Linked DNA regions of Homo sapiens: region 1 is linked to region 2. Evidence: promoter capture Hi-C in human tissues and cell types (Jung and others, 2019). All regions are on one chromosome and are shown on one strand. The core of a region is centred on a gene start or on the middle of the fragment in contact, and the rest is flanking DNA. Distances in the headings are between cores, read along the strand shown.

What was found. Contacts are between HindIII fragments. The study calls those that stand out against the background at their distance.
Region 1: a contact is called between a fragment that was not itself captured here and the fragment with the promoter of LBP in region 2, in 1 of the 25 tissues and cell types used here (spleen).

The regions. Positions count from the first base shown.
Region 1 is chr20:38,210,385-38,214,510 of GRCh38, reverse strand. KIAA1755 reads left to right here. Exons shown (of 14, transcript NM_001029864.2): 14 at 768-4,008. The coding sequence ends at 1,469. Among named protein-coding and RNA genes, the nearest start is that of TGM2, 47 kb to the right of the region's middle. The HindIII fragment of the contact is 7,984 bases long and covers 1-4,126 here.
Region 2 is chr20:38,344,063-38,348,437 of GRCh38, reverse strand. LBP (lipopolysaccharide binding protein) reads right to left here and starts at 1,956. Exons shown (of 15, transcript NM_004139.5): 1 at 1,798-1,956. The coding sequence starts at 1,921. RefSeq lists an enhancer at 3,903-4,375. The HindIII fragment of the contact is 17,182 bases long and covers 1-4,375 here.

The DNA of each region.
Region 1 (4,126 bases), core at 1,507-4,006, 130 kb after region 2:
AAATGGGCTGCTGGTGCAGTTCAGTGCAATCCTGCCTGAGACACACAGAACCTGGCAAACGGTCAGTGCTCAATAAGCATTAGGCAGACTCCTCCCTCACAGCACTCTCAAGGGTTAATACAACCATGGAGAGGAATTTCACCTCTCAAAAGGCTTTTCATGATCATCTAGTGCAACTTCCATTTTACAGAAGAAGAAACTGAGCCCCAGAGAGGGCTAAGTCCCTGCTGGCCCGTAGGTCTATTAGAAGGTGTCTGATGGGCTGGGCGCAGTGGGTCATGCCTATAATCCCAGCACTTTGGGAGGCTGCGGCGGGTGGATCACCTGAGGTCAGGAGTTCGAGACCAGCCTGACCAACAAGGTGAAACCCCGTCCTACTAAAAATACAAAAATTAGCTGGGCATGGCAGCAGGTGCCTATAGCCTCAGCTACTCGGGAGGCTGAGACAGGAGAATTGTTTGAACCTGGGAAGCAGAGCTTGCAGTGAGCCGAGATCACACCACTGCACTCTAGCCTGGGTGATGGAGCGAGACTCCATCTCAAAAAAAAAAAAAAGGTGTCTGATGATTCTAAGGGTGCTTGGGGGCTGTTTCCAGATGGCAGGTGTGTGCACCCCAGGGAAGAGAGGGAAACCAGGGTCATCATGGTCAGTGGAGAAGATCATGGCCAAGCTGAGCGGGGCCCTGGCATTGGGCACTTATTAATTCAGTCCTCCATGGTCCCACTTCCAGCCTGAGCCCCCACCTCCCTCTCTTCTTGTCCCCCAGATGACCTGGTTCCACATGGACTGTCAGGACCTGATGGCCCAGCTCAGGCTGGACAAGACCTCAAGGGTCAGTCCTGGGGACCAGCGCCGCCTCCACCGCTACCTGCAGCGACTGGCATCTGAGTTCCCTGCTGAGAAGCTCGCAGCCGTGGGGCTGCAGGTGGCCTCCCTGAGCCGGGCAGGCCTGGGCCAGGAGCTATGGGAGGAGGCCCGGATCAGGCATGAGGAGATCCGGATGCTCCTGGAGAAGGCACTGACCCACAGCTCTTGCCCAGAGGCTCCAGCTGCTCACTCAGCGCGCCCAGAACGAAGAGGGGTGGCAGCCAAGGGCCAGGGTGTGAGTGTAGAGGTCACTTCCAAGGGGAGGTGGGATCAGCCTCCACTAGACTCACTGGGCATGGACCATTTGCCAAAGTCCTATTGGCCTCCTGGGCCCCCCAGAGGGGAACAGAACAGAACTTTCCAGGCAGGCTCTCCACCCCAGGAAGCTGGCCAGGCTGCAGAGGCTGAAGACGGCAAAGGCTCCCACAAGCTGCCTGACCCTGCCCGCGAGCATTTGCTTGCCACCACCTTCTTCCGGCAGCAGCCCCCCAGGCAGAGCCAGGTCCCTCGCCTCACTGGGGGCAGCTTCTCCTCAGAGGGGACAGACTCACAGACATCCCTTGAGGACTCACCCCAGACAAGTCCCCTTGCCTCCCTCTAGCTGAGAGGCCCCTTCAGTCGCACCAGCCTCCAGGAGCACTGGGCCAGGGCCCAGCTGGAGGGGTAGCTGGGAGCTCTGGTCAGTCCCAGTGAGACGTCACCATGGAGCACTGGTTTTACATTCTGCCTCTGCTGGGAGGATGAGAACTGTCGACCTGCCCCTGGCTCCAGAAAACTCCTGGAAGACCCGATCTTCACCCATGCAGAATAGCAAGAGTGGGCGTCAGAACCAGGGCACAATAAATGGTGTGATTGGCTCCATCCCTCCAGGCTCTCATTGTGGAAAGACCTGTCGGCACAGACCCCTCCAGAGGTCTCGCTCGCAGGCAGGCAGACACCCACCTGCAGCTCAGGAACATACACAGCTCTCCCCTCGGGTACGAGGGCCAGTGTTGCCCTTAGGCAGAATCCTCGGGGAGATTCGGGAGTGCTTCCTTGTCTTGGATTCCAGGAAAATGGACCCTGAGATGAGGATTTAAGGATCAGTGTGTTTGGTGCTGATCCAGGAACCTCTGCTGGGGGAGTAGGAGGCGAATCTGCAAAGGGAATAAAGAGTATGTTGTCAAGCAAATTTTCTTTTTTTTAATTTTTAAAACTTCATTGTATTTTATGTTTAGAGATGGGGCCTCACTACATTGCCCAGGCTGGTCTCAAACTCCTGGGCTCAAGTGATCCTCTTGCCTTGGCCTGCCAAAGTGCTGGGATTGCCTTTTCCGCCCACCCCCCCCGACCCCACCAGAGACAGGGTCTCACTCTGGTGTCCAGGCTGGAGTGCAGTGGTGCAATCATAGCCTTAAATTCCTGGGTTCAACCAATCCTCCCACCTCAGCCTCCTAAGTAGCTGGGACTACAGTTATGCACCACCATGCTCAGCTTATTATTTATTTATTTTTTGTAGACATGGGGTCTTGCTATGTTGCCCAGGCAGGCTGATCTCAAGCTCAAGTGATCCTCTGGACTCAGCCTCCCAAAGTGCTGGGATTATACGTATGAGCCACTGTGCCCCACCCTCATACAAATTTCCATGTTGGCAACTGTAGCTGGATCTTTCTGGAGATCTCTGAAAGACAGCATGGAATCCTTGAACACCCCCTGAGGCGTGAGGCATCCAGAGCATTTATCTGCCAACCCTCAGGAGCTGGCACTCGTAGACAGCACGCACAGCCAGCTCCATTGGTCTTGGCAAAGAGAATTGCCTCCTGGAGCCAGAGGCCGGTTCCTGTGCTTAGAAAGGAAGGACATGTCTTCTGTGCTCCCTGTCTCACAAGGCCTCTTCAGCAGGCATGGGACCTTCATTCTCAAGTTCAAGGAACCCTGTGGAACCTTGTCCTTGTCCTCCAGAGAGAATCCTCTCCGCCTTAGAGGTCCCTCCTCTCTCTCACCTCCCCACCAAGCCTCCCTGAACTCAATGTCTTCTGTCCCCTTCCCTGCCCAACTTCCACTTCTCTATGCCCAGCCTCTGTGGCCCAGTACCATTGGGGTTCTGTGGGCAGCTGGGTCCTGGTGGTTGGGGACCGTGGGAAGGGGCCTATCTGTCGGATCTTAGATGGAGCATCCAGAAGCCCCACCCTTCATACTGGCCAGAGTGGCCCCTGCCAGCGCCTCTCTGGAGTGTCATTAAGCTGAAAGTGTTTGCCTTACCTCTGCAGTAGGATGCATTACTGAAGTGGCCTCTTGGTCACCTAGCTCTGAATTTTCCTGGCTCCAGAAAGAGGCTGTGGGGCACAGGTCCCCCACAATGAGGCTGTGAAGGGGAGAGAGGCAGGCCTGGGCCAGGCACAGGAGGACAACTAGGGCTTCTCAGGAGCTGTCTCAGCCAAGAGTCACACACTTGATACCTAAAATGGCTTCAGGAATCTTCCAAGACTGAAGACTTCCCCAGGTGTGGTCTAGGGCCTGCCTGCCTCAGAGCCATGAGCAGAGCCGGTCAAAAGGCTTCCTAGGGAATCCTACCCCAGACATTAAAATAGACTCTTGGTGCTGGCAGGTGGCTGGAATCTGCGTTTGTAGCCAAGTGCTCTTCCTGTGTGACTCAGCAAAGTGGGGGTGCATTTGGGGAACACCCGGGGCTGGGGCCTGAGTCCTCCACCCAAAGCCAGGTTTGATTCTTGCATTCCCCTCCCTGCCTTCCATCCAGACAGGCCCAAAGATGCAAGAGGCGTTGATCAGCCCATCTCCATCCATGCCTGTTGCCTCAGAGAGGGCCGACGGCTTTTAAAATGCTGTTGCCATAGCAACAGCATCCAGCCAGTGGGTACCACAGGCAGGGAGCCACAGAAACTGGGGTGCTGGGATGGAAACTGACTTGTGAGAGACCACAGCTACTGCTAGAAGGAAGGGGGGCAAAGCGGGCACAGGTAATCTAAGAATACTTGGGCGGGAGGAGTCCCCAAGGTTACCTTGTGCATCCCTCTGTCCCCAGAAAGAACTGTACCCCAACAATCTCTCCCCTCACTGCATCCCCTGGGGAAGAAGGGAATGCAGAAATGAAATGTCATAATGAGTAACAATGTATAAAAATATCGAATAATAACAGCTAACATTTCTTTTGCATTTTCTTTGTGCCTAGCTTTGAGCTAAATCCTCTAAAAGCTTTACAGGGCTTGTTGAATTTTTTTTACAACATTATGAGGACTGATTCCACCCTATTTTACTGAG
Region 2 (4,375 bases), core at 707-3,206:
GGGAGGCTGAGGCAGGAGAATCACTTGAACCAGGGAGTCGGAGGTTGCAGTGAGCTGAGATTGTGCCATTGCACTCCAGCCTGGCAACAGAGTGAGACTCCGTTTCAAAAAAAAAAAAAATATGGAAAGGACCAAAATGTCCAACCTCAGAGGACTGGTTACATAAACATGGTGTGTGTGCACAGTGCAAAGGAACAAAAGAGAAACTTCCCTGATTTACAGTTTCAATGCAAGTAGCAGTTACCAGGTCCCACTGTTCCGAGATCTGAGGGGCCCAGGTTTCTGTCCCCAAGGCAGACATGGGTACACAGATGACCAGCAGCCTCCCCTTTCACCTCTTTCCAATTTGCTCTTCTCCCTCTAGCAAACGCACATGTTGGGGTCCTTCCGCCTGGAACGCTACCCCTTGTCCCTGGGTAATTCCCACTGTCTTTTCCATTTTACTATATCCTGGAATCCTTCCCTGATTTCCCTCTGCCTGTCTCGAGCCAGTCTGGGCTCCCAACAACCCTATCTAAGGGAATGTTGTTATCTCATTTAATAGGTAAGGCAATTGAGGCTCTAGGGATGTGAGAAGACATGTGGTCAGTGCCTGTCCATATCCTTGAGTCTTTCCAGTGAGTGACAGTTGACTCCCAGCTGCCAATGTCTGCCTCCCTGAGCCTGTATGTCCCGAGGCTTTTTGTCCTGGAACTGCAGAAAGCAGGTACATGCAACAGGACAGAAGTGCTGGGGAGTTGACAAACCCCCGGCCCAGAAGCCCTCAATCAATCACTGTGGTGTATAAATATCCCAGTTCCCATGCCACCTGGATAGTCGGGAGGCTTTGTTTCAGTATTTAAAAAAAAATACTCCTACTTTTGCTCATTCTTTGTTTTATTTTTATTTATTTTTTTGAGACAGTCTCCCTCTGTTGCCCAGGCTGCAATGCAGCAGCATGATCTCGGCTCACTGCAACCTCTGCCTCCCGGGTTCAAGCGATTCTCCTGCCTCAGCCTCCCAAGTAGCTGGGATTACAGTTGGCTGCCACCAAGACTGGCTAATTTTTGTATTTTTAGGAGAGGCGAGGCTTCACCATGTTGGCCAGGCTTGCCTCGAACTCCTGGCCTGAAGCTATCCACCCACCTCGGCCTCCCAAAGTGCTGGGATTACAGGCGTGAGCCACTGTGCCTGGCCTGCCCATTCTTTAAAATTGAGGAATAATATACATAAAGTACCTAACGGGCACAAATTTTAAAGGTATTGCTAAATAATTTTTAATGTTTATACAGGAATGTGATCACCACCTGGATCAAGATATGGCAACTTCCAGCACCCCGGCAGACCTCCCTCATGCCCTTCAGGGTCTCTGCCTGCCTCTAGAGGTGACCACAATTCTGACTTCCAGTTCAGAGGCATGTGTTTCCAAACTTTACGCAGAATTTTCCCAGCTGAGTGGTTCCCATCATCAGAGGTGGTGGCTGGTTTAATTGCACACTCTCTCCTGGCTGCCCTCCCTTCCTCATCTCAGTACCGATTCCCTACAGTGTTTCCTGGAATCATTTCCCAAATCAACTACTTGCACGCAAAGCTGTGTTCTGTTGGCTGGTGGAGGACCTCACTACCACAAATAACATGCCCAGGGCACTCAGCTGGTGGGCAGTAAGGCCAGAATAGGAGCCAGAGCCACCTGACCCAGAAGGTGGCACTGCCCCAGGGAGAGGGTCCGGTCTGTGTCCCCACTCCCTGTCCCCACTGTACCCAGAGCAGCCTGGAGCGTGGGTTTGCCAAGTCCAGCCAGCAGATGTGGCTTCTTACCATACTGCAGTCCCTTGTCGGTGATCCTGGCGACCAAGCCGGGGTTGGCACCCAGAGCCTCTGGGGTGGACGTAAGCAGCAATGCCAGCAGTATGGACGGCAGGGCTCTGGCCAAGGCCCCCATCCTAGATTCCCAGTGCAGTGGGCCAGGACTGTCCCAGCTGTGGATTGGGCCCAGGTCCCTTAAGTAGCCAAGGCTCGATGGCTGGGGGCAGTTCCTGAGGCTGGATGGGTTCCTGGGAGCGGGAAGGGGAGGCACAGGGACTGGAACCTGCTTGCGACATCACTGAAGTCATAAGGTCATACTTAGAAGCCAGTTTTCACTGCCCAGATCAGTGGATGAGGAAGCCTGACTCCTATGATCATCCCTGTCCACCCTCCCCACAGAAAGACCCCATATTCATCACTGTTCATCTTGCCTCATCTCAGCCAGTCTCTTAAGAGCTCGGCTAGGAAGGCCTGGTTTAGCAGATGAGGAAACTGAGGTTCAAAAAAGCCACATAGCTCCCTTGAGATCTCACCCCCAGCAGAGGGCAGGGTTGAGAGTGAAGCTACATCTGGCACCAACCAAACTCTCTTTTTTAAAATATATTGGCTCGTTTATTTAAAAAATAAATGTTTCCCCCAATGGGAAAACAGTGTTTCTCAAACCTTGCTGGTGGTGAAATTTTCTGGAAGGCAATTGGCAAATGTTTAAACAGTTGCATGCCCTGTGACCCAGGAATTCAATTTCAGGGACTTGCCCTTAAATACATAATTGAGTCAGTGTGCCAGTAAATCACTGCTCCAAGATACCACTGCTATGCTGTGGGAAACAGGACAGGAGAAGTGAGACCCAACCTCATGTATCCACCAGAAGGGCATTGGTTAAATGAATTATGACATGCCCCTTAAAGTGAGGCTGCAGAAATAAAGGTATTTCTTGGCAAGGAAAGGGATGTCATGAGGCATCCGTTTCCGATGGCACCATAGAGTAAGGTTCTATTTTGGGGGGTTCAAAATAGGCTTCTATGTTCAACAATCTGGAAAATATTTAGCAAGGAGTCATGAGGCATTGTCTCTGGTTGTGGGGGTAGAATTATAAGTGTTAAAAAAGTTTTTGCTTGTTGATACGTACAATTTTTTTTTCTTTTTTCATTTTTTGAGACAAAGTCTACTCTGTTGCTCAAGCAGGAGTCCAGTGGCATGAACATCGCTCGCTGCAACCTCAACTTCCTGGGCTCAAGTGATCCTCCCACCACAGCCCCCTAAGTAGCTGGGACTACAGGTGTGAGCCACCATGTCCAGCTAATTTTTTGTATTTTAGTAGGGACGAGGTCTTGCTATGTTGCCCAGGCTGGTGTCGAACTCCTGAGCTCAAGTAAGCCTCCCGCTTGGCCTTCCAAAATACTGGGATTATAGACTTGGGCCACCATGCCCAGCCTCTAAAATTTTTATTTTCTTGGGGGTATGGTCCCGGGCATATATTCGCAGTAAGTAAAGATAGTAAAATTTCATTCTGGAAAACAAAATTTATAGTACAGACTGTGTTTAATTTTTAGAGTTTTGCCCCAGCCCTGCTTACATTTGTGAGTTCTGCTTTGCCCTCACCCCCAGGAAGCCTTCCCTGACCACTCCCATGCTTCTCTGGATTCTAGAAAGGGTCCCCTCTGAGGTCCCAGAACCCTTTGCGCTTTCCCCACCACAGCATTAACCACTCTGCTTTTTGATAATTGTGGTCCTTTAAAAATATGCCCACGAATTCTTTGATATTCCTTCCATCAAAAGGTAATGTTTCTGCCCCCTTCCCTTGAAATTGGGCAGGTTTTCATGATGGCCTCAACCAACTGAATGTGGTGGGATTAACAGGGTGACTCCCAATAGGTCACAAACAGCACTGGCAGGCACTGAGGTTAAGATCAGAATGTCCCACGTTAAGCACAGGGAACCCCACAGTCCAGGCCTCTCTGCTCCTCTGTACCGTGTTGCTCCTGTCACTGGGGCTGAGGTTTGTTGGGATCCTCATCCGTCCCTCCCCTCAGTCCCCACACCACCAGTCTGATGGCTCCTTGCAGGCACGGCTGAGTCTTCCATTTCCTGAGATCCTTGCAGCACCCAGCAGAAATTGGAAAGAAACTGATATTTATTGAGCACCTACTATGTGCAGGCGCTGTGCTGGTTAAGCTGCACGTCTCCTCTCATCCTTGCATCAGCAACCCCAGGTGGATATTTTAGTCTTGTCTTGAGATGAAGAAACTGAGGTTTGGCAGGGTGAAGTGATGTAGGCTGCAGTCACCCAGCAGGAATTTAAGTCCAGGTCTGCAGGATGCCATTCCAAAACTCTGGTCAGGGCAGGGTTCTCTTGGGAGGCAACAAGCTGAGCAGAGGCCTCAGGGTAAGGAGCCAGCCTTTGGGAGGCTTTGGAGCAGGAAAGGGCTCACAGGTGCATCCCCAGTGTGCCTAGGGGCCTTTGCTTCCTGGACCTCAGCCTGCCCAGGAGGGGAGGAGAGTGGGGGAGGACATTCTGGAGCATAAGGATCTTATGGGGACATAGATGTCACTCTTCCTCTGGCAGCAGTTTAAGGATGTCCCTGGCTGG